Regions from separate parts of the Homo sapiens genome. Here regions 1 and 2 are each linked to region 3. Evidence: promoter capture Hi-C in 16 types of primary human blood cells and fetal thymus (Javierre and others, 2016). All regions are on one chromosome and are shown on one strand. The core of a region is centred on a gene start or on the middle of the fragment in contact, and the rest is flanking DNA. Distances in the headings are between cores, read along the strand shown.

Evidence for each region. Contacts are between HindIII fragments. The CHiCAGO score rates a contact against its expected background, and 5 or more counts as called.
Region 1: a fragment that was not itself captured here is called in contact with the fragment with the promoter of HOXA1 in region 3 in 1 of 17 cell types (M1 macrophages); the score reaches 5.1 in M1 macrophages.
Region 2: a fragment that was not itself captured here is called in contact with the fragment with the promoter of HOXA1 in region 3 in 1 of 17 cell types (endothelial precursors); the score reaches 6.6 in endothelial precursors.

The regions. Positions count from the first base shown.
Region 1 is chr7:26,394,674-26,398,353 of GRCh38, forward strand. All of the region lies in intron 1 of SNX10-AS1 (SNX10 antisense RNA 1), which reads right to left. Among named protein-coding and RNA genes, the nearest start is that of LINC02981, 2.1 kb to the right of the region's middle. RefSeq lists enhancers at 3,032-3,680, 3,063-3,302. The HindIII fragment of the contact is 246 bases long and covers 1,510-1,755 here.
Region 2 is chr7:26,152,601-26,156,422 of GRCh38, forward strand. It overlaps NFE2L3 (NFE2 like bZIP transcription factor 3), which reads left to right. Exons shown (of 4, transcript NM_004289.7): 1 at 1-468. Among named protein-coding and RNA genes, the nearest start is that of NFE2L3, 2.3 kb to the left of the region's middle. RefSeq lists enhancers at 1-352, 353-1,146, 497-686 and silencers at 47-296, 307-376. The HindIII fragment of the contact is 1,743 bases long and covers 1,495-3,237 here.
Region 3 is chr7:27,094,202-27,097,735 of GRCh38, forward strand. HOXA1 (homeobox A1) reads right to left here and starts at 1,799. Exons shown (of 2, transcript NM_005522.5): 1 at 1,060-1,799; 2 at 1-594. The coding sequence starts at 1,711. The coding sequence ends at 239. HOTAIRM1 (HOXA transcript antisense RNA, myeloid-specific 1) reads left to right here and starts at 1,893. Exons shown (of 2, transcript NR_038367.1): 1 at 1,893-2,187. RefSeq lists enhancers at 1-386, 387-887, 1,769-2,063, 2,189-2,761 and a silencer at 2,116-2,285. The HindIII fragment of the contact is 6,567 bases long and covers 1-3,379 here.

The DNA of each region.
Region 1 (3,680 bases), core at 383-2,882, 700 kb before region 3:
AATTTTCCTATCTGCCTTCGAGAGGGGAATGACTAATAATTTTATCTTCAAACATTTCTATGATTTACACGTTTTCAAAGAGGAATATTCTGATGGTGAATAATCCAGTTATTACATTATTTGCTAAATTAAAATAATTATTTGCTATTCTCCTGACTTAATTCTCAGATGTCTACAAACTAAAGAACTTAGGGCAAAAATGGCTTAATTCAGTCAAGAATTCATATTGTTAAAGGAAAAATCCTATGTGGGATCCATAATATGGCTAGTTATTTAGTGGGGAGAAAGCAAAGCAAAAGAGCAAATATTTTACTGCACCCTAAGAAAATATCAATTGGATTCAGCCAAGCAGTTTGCTATCGACTAAATCAATATATACCATTTTTTCAAACACTATTTTTTGGTAGAAAGAACCAATATAAGAATAATCAAAGTGTGATTGGTTTTGATCTTCAAATAAAAAGCCATCATAAGTCGCTGATACTGGCCAGGCGTGGTGGCTCACGCCTGTAATCCCAGGACTTTGGGAGGCCGAGGTGGGAGGATCACCTGAGGTTGGGTGTTTGAGACCAGCCTGGGCAACATGGTGAAACCCCGTGTCTACTAGAAATACAAAAATTAGCCAGGCGTGGTGGCATGCGCCTTTAATCCCAGCTACTTGGGAGGCCGAGGCAGGAGAATTCCTTGAACCAGGGAAGCAGAGGTTCCAGTGAGCTGAGATGGTGCCACTGCACTCCAGCTTGGCCTGGGCAACAGAGTAAGACTCCATCTCAAAAAAAAAAAAAAAAAAAGAAAGAAAAGAAAAGTTGCTGATACTTTTAGTGCCTACTCAATAGCCATCCTCCCTTATTCCTTATTCCTTGGGAGCTGCCCTGTCCAGATTCTAGAGAAAAAATAAAAAAGTTTCTAAGCCACTAAGCTTTGGGATAGTTTGGCTGCAGAAATTGATGACTGGGAAACGGACTAAAATTCAGCTTTTGTTTTGGCATTGCCTGTCCTGTCAATTCCCTGCTCTCCTGCACCGCTCCCCTTACCCTCAAAATAATTCAAGACTAAATCCTGATTAGTTATCAATTCTGATAATCTTGCCTCTCTTGCCAGTGGTAGTTTAGAGATAGTCACGTGCCCTGGTTCTGGCCAATGAGAAAAGATCTGAGGGATCTTTGGTATAATTTCTCCACTCTTAAAAAATTTGAGAACAGTCAACTTTTTTGGCTGGCCTTTGCCATGTCTTAAAGTGATGCCTGGAACTATGGCAGCCATTTTGAGACCTTGAGGAGAACTAGCTAAGGACAAGGTCAGCAAGCTGAGGATGGCAGAATTTCAGAAAGACGAGAAAAACTTGACAACATTAAACATTTTTGACCCACTAAATTAACCAAACTTAGCATCTGCTACCTTGGTACTTCCTACATGAGATACTACATTTTCTTCATTTTTAAAGCTACTACAGACAGGTTTTCTATTACTGAAATCAAAGTTATCCTAAGAAAAACAAGCAGCGTATGAAGCTTTATTTTATCACATCTGACAGAACAGCTCAGCCTTAAGTTGGGAGTAAGATTTATACAATTCTGCTGATAATATTTATTACTCATTTTAATTGTTTGCATGGTAATATTGAAGCCCCCCAACTGTTAGGAAATGTGCATTATTTTAACAATACTGGGTATCAGTAAATAAAATATGCTAAATATTGCTGAAAATAAACACTAAGTAACTCAATTTGTGTCATTATATGTGAGGAATGGGAAAAGCTTCTTGGAAGAGGTGATATTTAATCTGGACTTGGAAAGATCGGTGATATTTGAACAGTTGGACATGAAGTTCAAGGGCATTCTAGAGAATGTCATGGGAGAGGAAATGCAATAGCATGATTTGGGGATGTACTGTAGTAGACAAATAAGGCTGGAGCTGGGTTAGGTGCAGATTGTGGAGGGTCTTAAATGTCTTGCTAAGGGAGTGTGGAGTGCCTTTCCTCAGCAGTGGGGAACAGAGATATTTGAGTTAGTTACTGTGTATTGATTCCAGATAAACGAATAAAGCATATAGTATGTATATATTTTTTATAGTTTTTTTGGTATATTTTCATGAAAAGTGTGTATGATTTTAGTGAAACCATAAAAATCCATTTTCATTCCAATTTAGATTCTGTTTTAAAGTAGTTGCCAAGGAAACTAGTAAGTGACTGGTTATGCCCGATTTTCCCTAAGTTCAAAATTAGATGCAAATTCTTCAAAGAGACTACTTGAAGGCCAGTAAACATTTCAAAGGCAGTCAAGCTCAGACGCCTGGGTGTGTGGGTGCAGGAGGGTTAGAAGGGGGGTTCTGATGTTCCTGGAGGGAAGAGATGCCTTGCCTGTGTAGGCAAAGAGCTACTTTGAGGGAAAAAAGCTGAATGAGTTAGAGGTGAGTGCCCAGGAAGAGAAGCTGGAAGTGAGAGGTTCCACTGAAGTGCCTAGAAACAGACACTCTTTAATGGAGACAAGACCAAATTTCTGGAGTTTTCCTTTGTTTACATCTTTTTATCTTGTCTCGTTTCAAAAAGGAGTTAACTTTAAATATGTCCCTGAATAAACACGAGGCAGCATGACTCCATCGCAGGTAGAGATAGGACTAAAACATGATTCTCCTAAACTTTAACCCTGGAGTTAGCTCACTTAATCCTGTAAATCTCTGCAAAGACTAACTTTGTTCCCTGGCTCCTCCGTGGTTGCCAGGTGGTGGATATACATTCTACAACAGAAGAAACTGGAATCGCTAGAGGTGTCTTTTTTTAGGGCAAGGAAGCATTTCCCAGAAAACCCCAACAGATGTCCCCTGGCTTGGCCTTGGCCAGGACTGGTCACATGCTCTTTTCTAAGCCAGTGCCTGGGCAAGGGAAGGGGTTGGTCATAACGGATTTAGACTACTTAGGATTTACTTCTGGGCCAAGGAGAGGGAGGGGGTGAGGGAGGGGGTGAGGGAGGGGGTGAGGGAGGGGGTGAGGGTGGGGGCGGGGGGCTGGCCCGGCCTAAGATGGCTGGGGGTGATGCGTTCGGGGGACAAAGGAGTGCTGGACAGTTGTGTGAGCTGTAAGAAGGACCCGGAAAATACTGCAGAGTGATTGAGAGTGTAGAGGGGCCTGGGTTCTCACCTGTGCTCCCTCCCACCTTAGCTGGGTTATGCTGGGAACCTTTCAAGGCTTTGCTAAGCCTGGGTTTCCAGGAGTGCAATAAGATCGCTGTGATAAACATGTAGGTAAAGCAGTTGGCATAGTACCTTGCGTAGAATAGTCCTCAGCATATGTTTACTACTGTCGTTGTTGCTATTAATAAAAGTGACCTAGCTCCTCTCCTCGAGAAGTTCACAAGGGGCCCAAATGTGACAGGGGGAGCTATCAGAAGGCGGGAGGTGACTTCTTGCCAGGGAGCAAGCCAGGGCAAGAAGAGAGGCGCCGTGAAGCCTGCGTTCCCTCCCGCACGCGGCTTGCCTCGGTGGCCACACGGGGAGCTCAGCAAGGCCCAGGGTTCGGGAGGCGGGTCCTGCACAGCGACGCAGCCTTGTCCCGGTGGCCGCAGGCCTGGGGAGCAGGGCGCAGCACACCCGCCGCCCGCTTGCAGGCGAGACGAGAGCGGGGCGCCGGGATGCTGGCGTCCAATTTAACCACCAGGGCGCACGGGACGGAGGCCGGGGGTCCC
Region 2 (3,822 bases), core at 1,116-3,615, 940 kb before region 3:
CTGCTGCCGCCGCCCACCCTGCTGCAGGACGAGCTGCTGTTCCTGGGCGGCCCGGCCAGCTCCGCCTACGCGCTCAGCCCCTTCTCGGCCTCGGGAGGGTGGGGGCGCGCGGGCCACTTGCACCCCAAGGGCCGGGAGCTGGACCCTGCCGCGCCGCCCGAGGGCCAGCTGCTCCGGGAGGTGCGCGCGCTCGGGGTCCCCTTCGTCCCTCGCACCAGCGTGGATGCATGGCTGGTGCACAGCGTGGCTGCCGGGAGCGCGGACGAGGCCCACGGGCTGCTCGGCGCCGCCGCCGCCTCGTCCACCGGAGGAGCCGGCGCCAGCGTGGACGGCGGCAGCCAGGCTGTGCAGGGGGGCGGCGGGGACCCCCGAGCGGCTCGGAGTGGCCCCTTGGACGCCGGGGAAGAGGAGAAGGCACCCGCGGAACCGACGGCTCAGGTGCCGGACGCTGGCGGATGTGCGAGCGAGGTAGGTGCAGAGCGGGAAGCGAGCGAAGTGCGGCGTCTACGCCGCCGGGAGCCCCCGAGGCTTGTGTCGGATCTGAGCAGGGGCCACTCTCGCTGTGTCCTGGCACCCTTAGCCCCTGGTCTTTGCAGGTTCGCAGATGCTGCTGCTCTGATTCCGAATGAAGGGCTACTAGTGCTGTCGCTGTGGTTTTTAGGTGTTTAAGGAAGAAGTGGACGAAATCATCCGTTTGGTTATAGAGAATACCTTTCCTTGTGTGTGATGGCTGGCAAGAGTAGTTCGGGGATGGGGAGGGGAGAAGCAATGCCCACTGTCTTCGCTCAGTACCTCATGTACACTGGGGTGTCGTTCTCTGGGACCCGTGCCCGACCTGGACGATGTGAAGGAGGCCGTGACCTCTGGGAGGATGCATGTTTTTAAGAACGACTCTCCCGGCCTAACGCAAGGACCTTCGCCCTGTTTTCAGCCCAATTGCTGTTCGTTTTTGCTGCTTCCCTGGATTAAGGAGCCATGGTCAGGGTCTATTCAGAGGCCAGCCGGCAGGCGGTCCCCCTGTGACCTAACCATCCCCTGCACCTAGCAATCCTCCTTCCTGGAATTTGTGTAACCTCTTATTAGCATAACGAAAACAGGTACCTTGGCAGTCACTTAGTGACTAACAAGTTCCCTTTGGTTTATGGGTCCAAACCCTTCTCTGGCTTAACTTCTTTCTGAAACCAAGTTTACCAAGATCTGTTGCTTGAAACATCTGGTGCTCCCCATGGAACGTTTGAGTTCAGTCTAATGACACTTTAACACCAGTTTCCACAAAACCACTTTACCCAAAGTTCCTTCCAGGGGACTTTTAAAATTCTGTCTTGGCTCAAACTTTAGTGTTTGCAACTGGTAACGATCAACCAGTGGTGATCAACTAATGTTCTTCGGGTGTTGTTTTTGTGGGGCGCATTCTTATGCAAAATGGGAATTGGGGCTAAACTGGTTTGTTTGTTGCTCTTCAGAATTGCCGTTTGTGTAGGCTGTTGCCAGACAAGCTTCTCCACCCTCCTGGAGGGGTCATTGTGTGGAAGTGCTCGGTGATTCACTGTTATGCTGATCTGAGCCCTTCCTCTTCCTGGGGACCGGAACCAATGGGGTGGGGGCCAGTGAGAGTCTTGGAGGGATCCTTCTGTGTTCAGGATATACTGTGGGAGGTTCTTCCCCACTCACTCATCCAATCTGGACCCCATGGGGTCTGTCTCACCTAAATGCTCTGCCCTCTAATAAGTGAGTACTTGTGCACTACCACCATTCCTGGTTCTGTAACACAGAGTTGAAACCTAGTGCTGGATGCTGTACCAGATGGCACTCTGCCACCCACACCCGAATGCCAACCTGTGTGCAAAGTGCACAGGGACCTGGAGGGAGAAGAGAGGAAGCTGTTCAGTCCTCGGAAACTTCCCTCCCGGCATCACCTGGGAGACAAAGTGGCCTTCCCTTGGCTGTTTTTTTGTTTGTTTTGTTTTAAAGACAGGGTCTTGCTCTGTTGCCCAGGCTGGAGTGCAAAGGTGCAATGACGACTCACTGCAGCCTCAACCTCCCCGGCTCCAGCAATCCTTCCACTTCAGTCTCCCAGGTAGCTAGGAGAACTGGCGTGCACCACCATACTGGCTGATTTTTTGTAGAGACAGGTCTCGCTATGTTGCCTAGGCTGGTCTCGAACTCCTTGGCTCAAGTACCCATCCCATCTCAGCCTCCCAAAGTGCTGGGTTTACAGGCATGAGCCACCATGGGTGGCCTAGACTGGCAGGCCTGCCTTGGAGGCATTTTTTGAGCCTAGGCCAGCCAAACCACTGTGGAGGCTCTGAATCCAGCTTTCCTAGGGGAGAGAGTGAAGTTCCCCGAGAACCATTCTCCTGGCAGTGCCTTCCTGGCTGGGCTGGCATGTGTGCACCATGTTCACTGCTGGGATGACCTGGTTACATTCAATCTGGCAAAAATCAGCTGTCCAGCTCCTTACAGTTGTCACGGCCAGTTCACTTTTGTTGCCTTTTACATCAACCTTGTGTGGTGCACTGGCCAGGCACCCTTATATACAATTTGTACTTAAGAAAAATAGGGCTGAGTGCGGTGGCTCACACCTGTTATCCCAGCACTTTGGGAGGCTGAGGCAGGCAGATCACTTGAGGTCAGGAGTTCGAGACCAGACTGGGCAACATGGTGAACCCCATCTTTACTAAAAATACAAAAATTACTTGGGCGTGATTACACATGCCCGTAGTCCCAGCTACTCGGGAGGCTGAGGCACGAGAATCACTTGAATCTGGGCGGCGGAGGTTGCAGTGAGCCGAGATTGTGCCACTGAACTCCAGCCTGGGTGACAGAGTGAGACTCTGTCTCAAAAAGAAAAAAAATGAAGAAGAAGAAGAAAACTAGAAGCCTAGGTTAGGGATTTGGCTAAAGCCACATGTCAGTGCCAAAAGAGAGACCAGAGCCTGAGTCTCTTGACTCTCAGACTGGCACATTAATTAAGTACCTACACGGTACTCAAGCTCTTGGGACATCTAGGACGTCTCAGTGCATCTGGGATGGGGTGACTCAGCCTTCCACTGCCCAGGCTAATCACTCTCCAGTGCTAGATTGTGCCATTCATAATGAAGAGGTTGCAATTTGGAACCATGACTTTGGGGAGAAAATGGGCTGGAAAAACAACACTGGTCTTTGCGGTCAGCTAGACCTGGGTTTGGGAGTATCACCTGCTAGTATGCCCTCCCATAAGCTGCTTGAATCACTCCAAGCTTCAGTGTCTCATGTCAAGTGGGAGAGGAATGTGTACTCCAGGGGGAGGTGTGCTGATTAAGTGGGAAAAGCCCATGGGAAGAGCAGCATGGTGCCTGGATTGTAGCTGCGCTCTTCTGCCCTCCGTCCTTAACCCACCCTCCTTCACCTGTCCCCACTCACTGGATTCCTTTTGGCTTGTCTGCATATCTAGTTTGGTTGGTTATTGAAGAAGTGGGGTATGCTAGACCCAGACTGCCTGGTTTTGAATCCCAGCTCTACCACGTCTGTGACCTTGGACAAGTTGCTTATCCTTTCTGTGCTTCATTCTGTGTGCATTCCCATGCACAATGGGAATCAGAAGGGGCTTACCTCAGAGGGTTGATGTGAGAATTAAAAAGTTCATTCCATGTAAAGGGCTTAGAACTTGCCTGTCACTTAAGTGCTTAGTTAGTAAATGTTAGCTACTGTTAACTTCAAAGAGACGAAGTGCTTTGTCCCATAGGAACATAATTTTTAATTTTAAAAAATAGATAATTCCGGTGGCTTACATTTGAGTTGCAGGAGTTTTATAGTATAATTTTCCATAATTTATGTACATAT
Region 3 (3,534 bases), core at 549-3,048:
TAAGGCCCACCAGAAAATGTATGCTGGCACCCAATCTGGATGAAGGTGTTAACCCCGCACCAAGTCTCTGGTCCAGAATTATCTGCAAATATATTATCCTGGCCAGGAGCTCCCCAGATAGGATTAGAAAGGAAGAAAGAGACTGTAAATGGAAAGAAAGATAAGCTAAGCATGTGCTTTGGGTAAGAAGTCCCAGCCCAAGGAGATGCCTGGGCTGTTGTCTGGGGCTGGAGCCGCCTCAGTGGGAGGTAGTCAGAGTGTCTGAGGTAGAAGACCCCGGGGAAGGAACGCAGGGCGAAGAGCTGGACTTCTCTGAGGATTCCTCGGCCTTCTCGTCGTTTCCTGGCGGGGTGGCCGGAGAGATGGGCAAGAGACCCTCCTTCTCACGTTTCTTTTGCTTCATTCGGCGGTTCTGGAACCAGATCTTCACTTGGGTCTCGTTGAGCTGCAGGGATGCAGCGATCTCCACCCTGCGGGCGCGCGTCAGGTACTTGTTGAAGTGGAACTCCTTCTCCAGTTCCGTGAGCTGCTTGGTAGTGAAGTTGGTGCGCACCGCGTTGGGTTGACCCAGGTAGCCGTACTCTCCAACTTTCCCTGGGGCAAAGTGGGAAGCCATGAGACGGAAATGTAAAAATTTTTAAATCGACTTGAGATTCCCCACACGCTTCATGGCAACACTCAGGTAAAGAAAAGATCAAGAACTCAGCACAAATCGGGCTGTGGAGGGTGAGTGATGAGGTGTAAAGTGTTAACCTGATGTAAACCATTAGCATGGTCAGACCGGTGATTAATGGAGCCTCAAGATATTAACAGAACACTACCGTCACAATAACCACCCCCACATACTTCCTATTTCCCAAATGTATAAAATCCTTGAAAACACACCAATCCCTGAGACTTCTTTGCCCCAACACCTCTGGGCACCCTCTCCATGCACTACAACACTAGTCTGATACAAAAGCCTTTTAAAAAAAAGATCATTATTAATTTCCTTGGAAATTAAGCATACCAGCTCCTTCCAGAATAATCAAGGAGCATCCACCAACCAGCAGGACTGACCTGTTTTGGGAGGGTTTCTTTTGACTTTCATCCAGTCAAAAGTCTGCGCTGGAGAAGATGTCTCCGATGCGGGGGAGCGACAGGCTTCTTGGTGGCTGGCGTGGAGAGGGGACAAGGAGTTATTATACGTAGCCAGGGCCAGGCTCTGGTGCTCCTGTCCATATGAGTGGTGAATGTATTGAGGCGAGCCCACCGCGCCCCCAGCATAACCCTGGTGGTGGTGGTGATGCTGGACCATGGGAGATGAGAGATTTCCAGAGTAAACAGCGGGAGCGCACTGGGGGTACCCACCACTTACGTCTGCTTCCTGATTTAACGCGTAGGGGCTGTAAGGCGCACTGAAGTTCTGTGAGCCATAGCTTGGACCACAACTTGAGTGGGAGTAGGACACCCCCAGGTTCCCGGAAGTCTGGTAGGTAGCCGGCTGGGGGTGGCGATGGTGGTGGTGGTGGTGGTGGTGGGGCGAACCGATCTGCACCCCCCTGCCCACTAGGAAGCGGTCGTCGCCGCCGCAACTGTTGGCGCTGACCGCGCACGACTGGAAAGTTGTAATCCTATGGTCCGAGGGGTAGGCTCGGGCTGAGCAGGTCCCCGAGTCGCCACTGCTAAGTATGGGGTATTCCAGGAAGGAGTTCATTCTTGCATTGTCCATCTGTCACTGAGTGACCTGGTCCTGCGAAGCCCGGCGTGACTGTGCCAACTTTCTCACTTCCTCCATGGGGCCGGAGAAGAAAAATGATATGAATGTACAGTGCGCAAGAGGGGGGGCGGGAGGGCGGAGGACGCTGGAGGAGGGGCACGTGACGGTGTCAGCCAATGGCTGAGCCTCCTGCAAAAGTTTGCCGGCTTCCGCAGTGATGGATCACCGTTTTAGTGGCATTTAAATCCCCGGCGCTCCGCCGTCTAGGTGACGCGCAGTCGCCCCCCCAGGCAGCCTAGGCGGCGGCAGCTGCTGCGGCGACTGCAAAGGCCGATTTGGAGTGCTGGAGCGAAGAAGAGCAAAAGCTGCGTTCTGCGCGCGCCCGACTCCGCTGCCCGCCCCGCCAGGCCTCCGGGAGGTGGGGGCTGGGAGGCGTCCCCCGCTCCCGCCCCCTCCCCACCGTTCAATGAAAGATGAACTGGCGAGAGGTGAGAAGGGAAGAGGGCTCCCGGCTCTCTCGGGGCGGGAATCAGTGGGCCAGAGCTCGCCGGGTGGCCGCAAGTACGCCGGCCCAGCCCGCAGCGCGCCCAGCCGGAAGGCGGGGAATCCGGCTGACACCGCGCCCCGGGTTCCCAGGCCACCTCCTCTGTTCTGAGGCTGGGCTGGGAGACCGTGGGGCTGTGAGGAGCGCATAGAACCGTGGTGGAGGGCGAGGCTGGGCCACCGGCTCTTCAAGCTCGGAATGGAGGGGGAAGAGCGCAGAGGGCTGGCTGGGAGGAACTCGGGTGGGCGTGAAGGAGACGAGGGCAAGAAAAGAAACTTCCCTTCTTCCAGGAGGGTCTTCGAAACCCTCTCCCCACAGCCCCTCTCGTCATTAGCATGGCAATGAGGAGTTTCTGTAATTCGACTTGGAGGGGCGGATGAGCCCTGGAAACTCAGAGCTCGCCGGAAAAGGCCGGGGGCGGCCGGGCTCTTCTTCCCCACCTTCCCTCTCTCGTCGCTCTCCGCCCCTTTCTCTTTCCCACTCAGTTTTGCACCGGGAGCCCTCCGGGATGCGGAGCTACTCGACCGCCGGATTTTTAGGGGTAGGAGGCGGGGGAGAGAGATGACGCTGGCGGACGTGGCCAGCGCGGGGGCCGGGCGGTGCGCTGCAGGCCATCTGCCGGCGCCCTGAGACCCAGGAGCCTCCGCGCTCCCGCGTGGGCCTCACAGGGCCGGTCCACAGCTCCAACATAGTAGCTGAACTCCCTTCGTTGCGTTCCTCTTTTTCTGGAGGGGAATGTTAGAAGAGAGAGAGAGCTTCCTTTTATAACCTTCCTCATTCTGCTGCACGTCTAGAGTGGGTGTGGGGGCTGGCAGGTGGGAGGGGCGGTGGACAAATGGCTGATGGTGGACGGGACACTTTACCCCAACGACACCTCCTCCCCTTTCCAACTGGCTGTGTAGTTGCTTATGAGAACCTTCAAGTCCTTCCCTAGAGAGACACATGCAAATCTGAGCCTCATCCCAGGCCAGGGGTCCTGTTCCTCATCACCCTACTTCCCTGAGGCTGCTGAGGTCGTTAAATTGTTGTTTACTATTAGGTTTCACGTCAACCCTGGGCTTGTAGAGAGAAAAAGCCAAACGGAGACCAAGAATTGATGCAGTCTTGGGTAGGAGAAATCGAGAGCTTGTCCAGGAAGCTTTGCTGTATAAATTATAAGCAATGCTGTATAAATTTTACTCCAACCATGTGTACAATGTTGGAATCAGATGAAATTTATAGTGAATGAATGTATGTGGGTTTGGGGTTTCCACTCCTCTTCAGCCTTTCCTCCCGTTAGAACAAGGAAGGT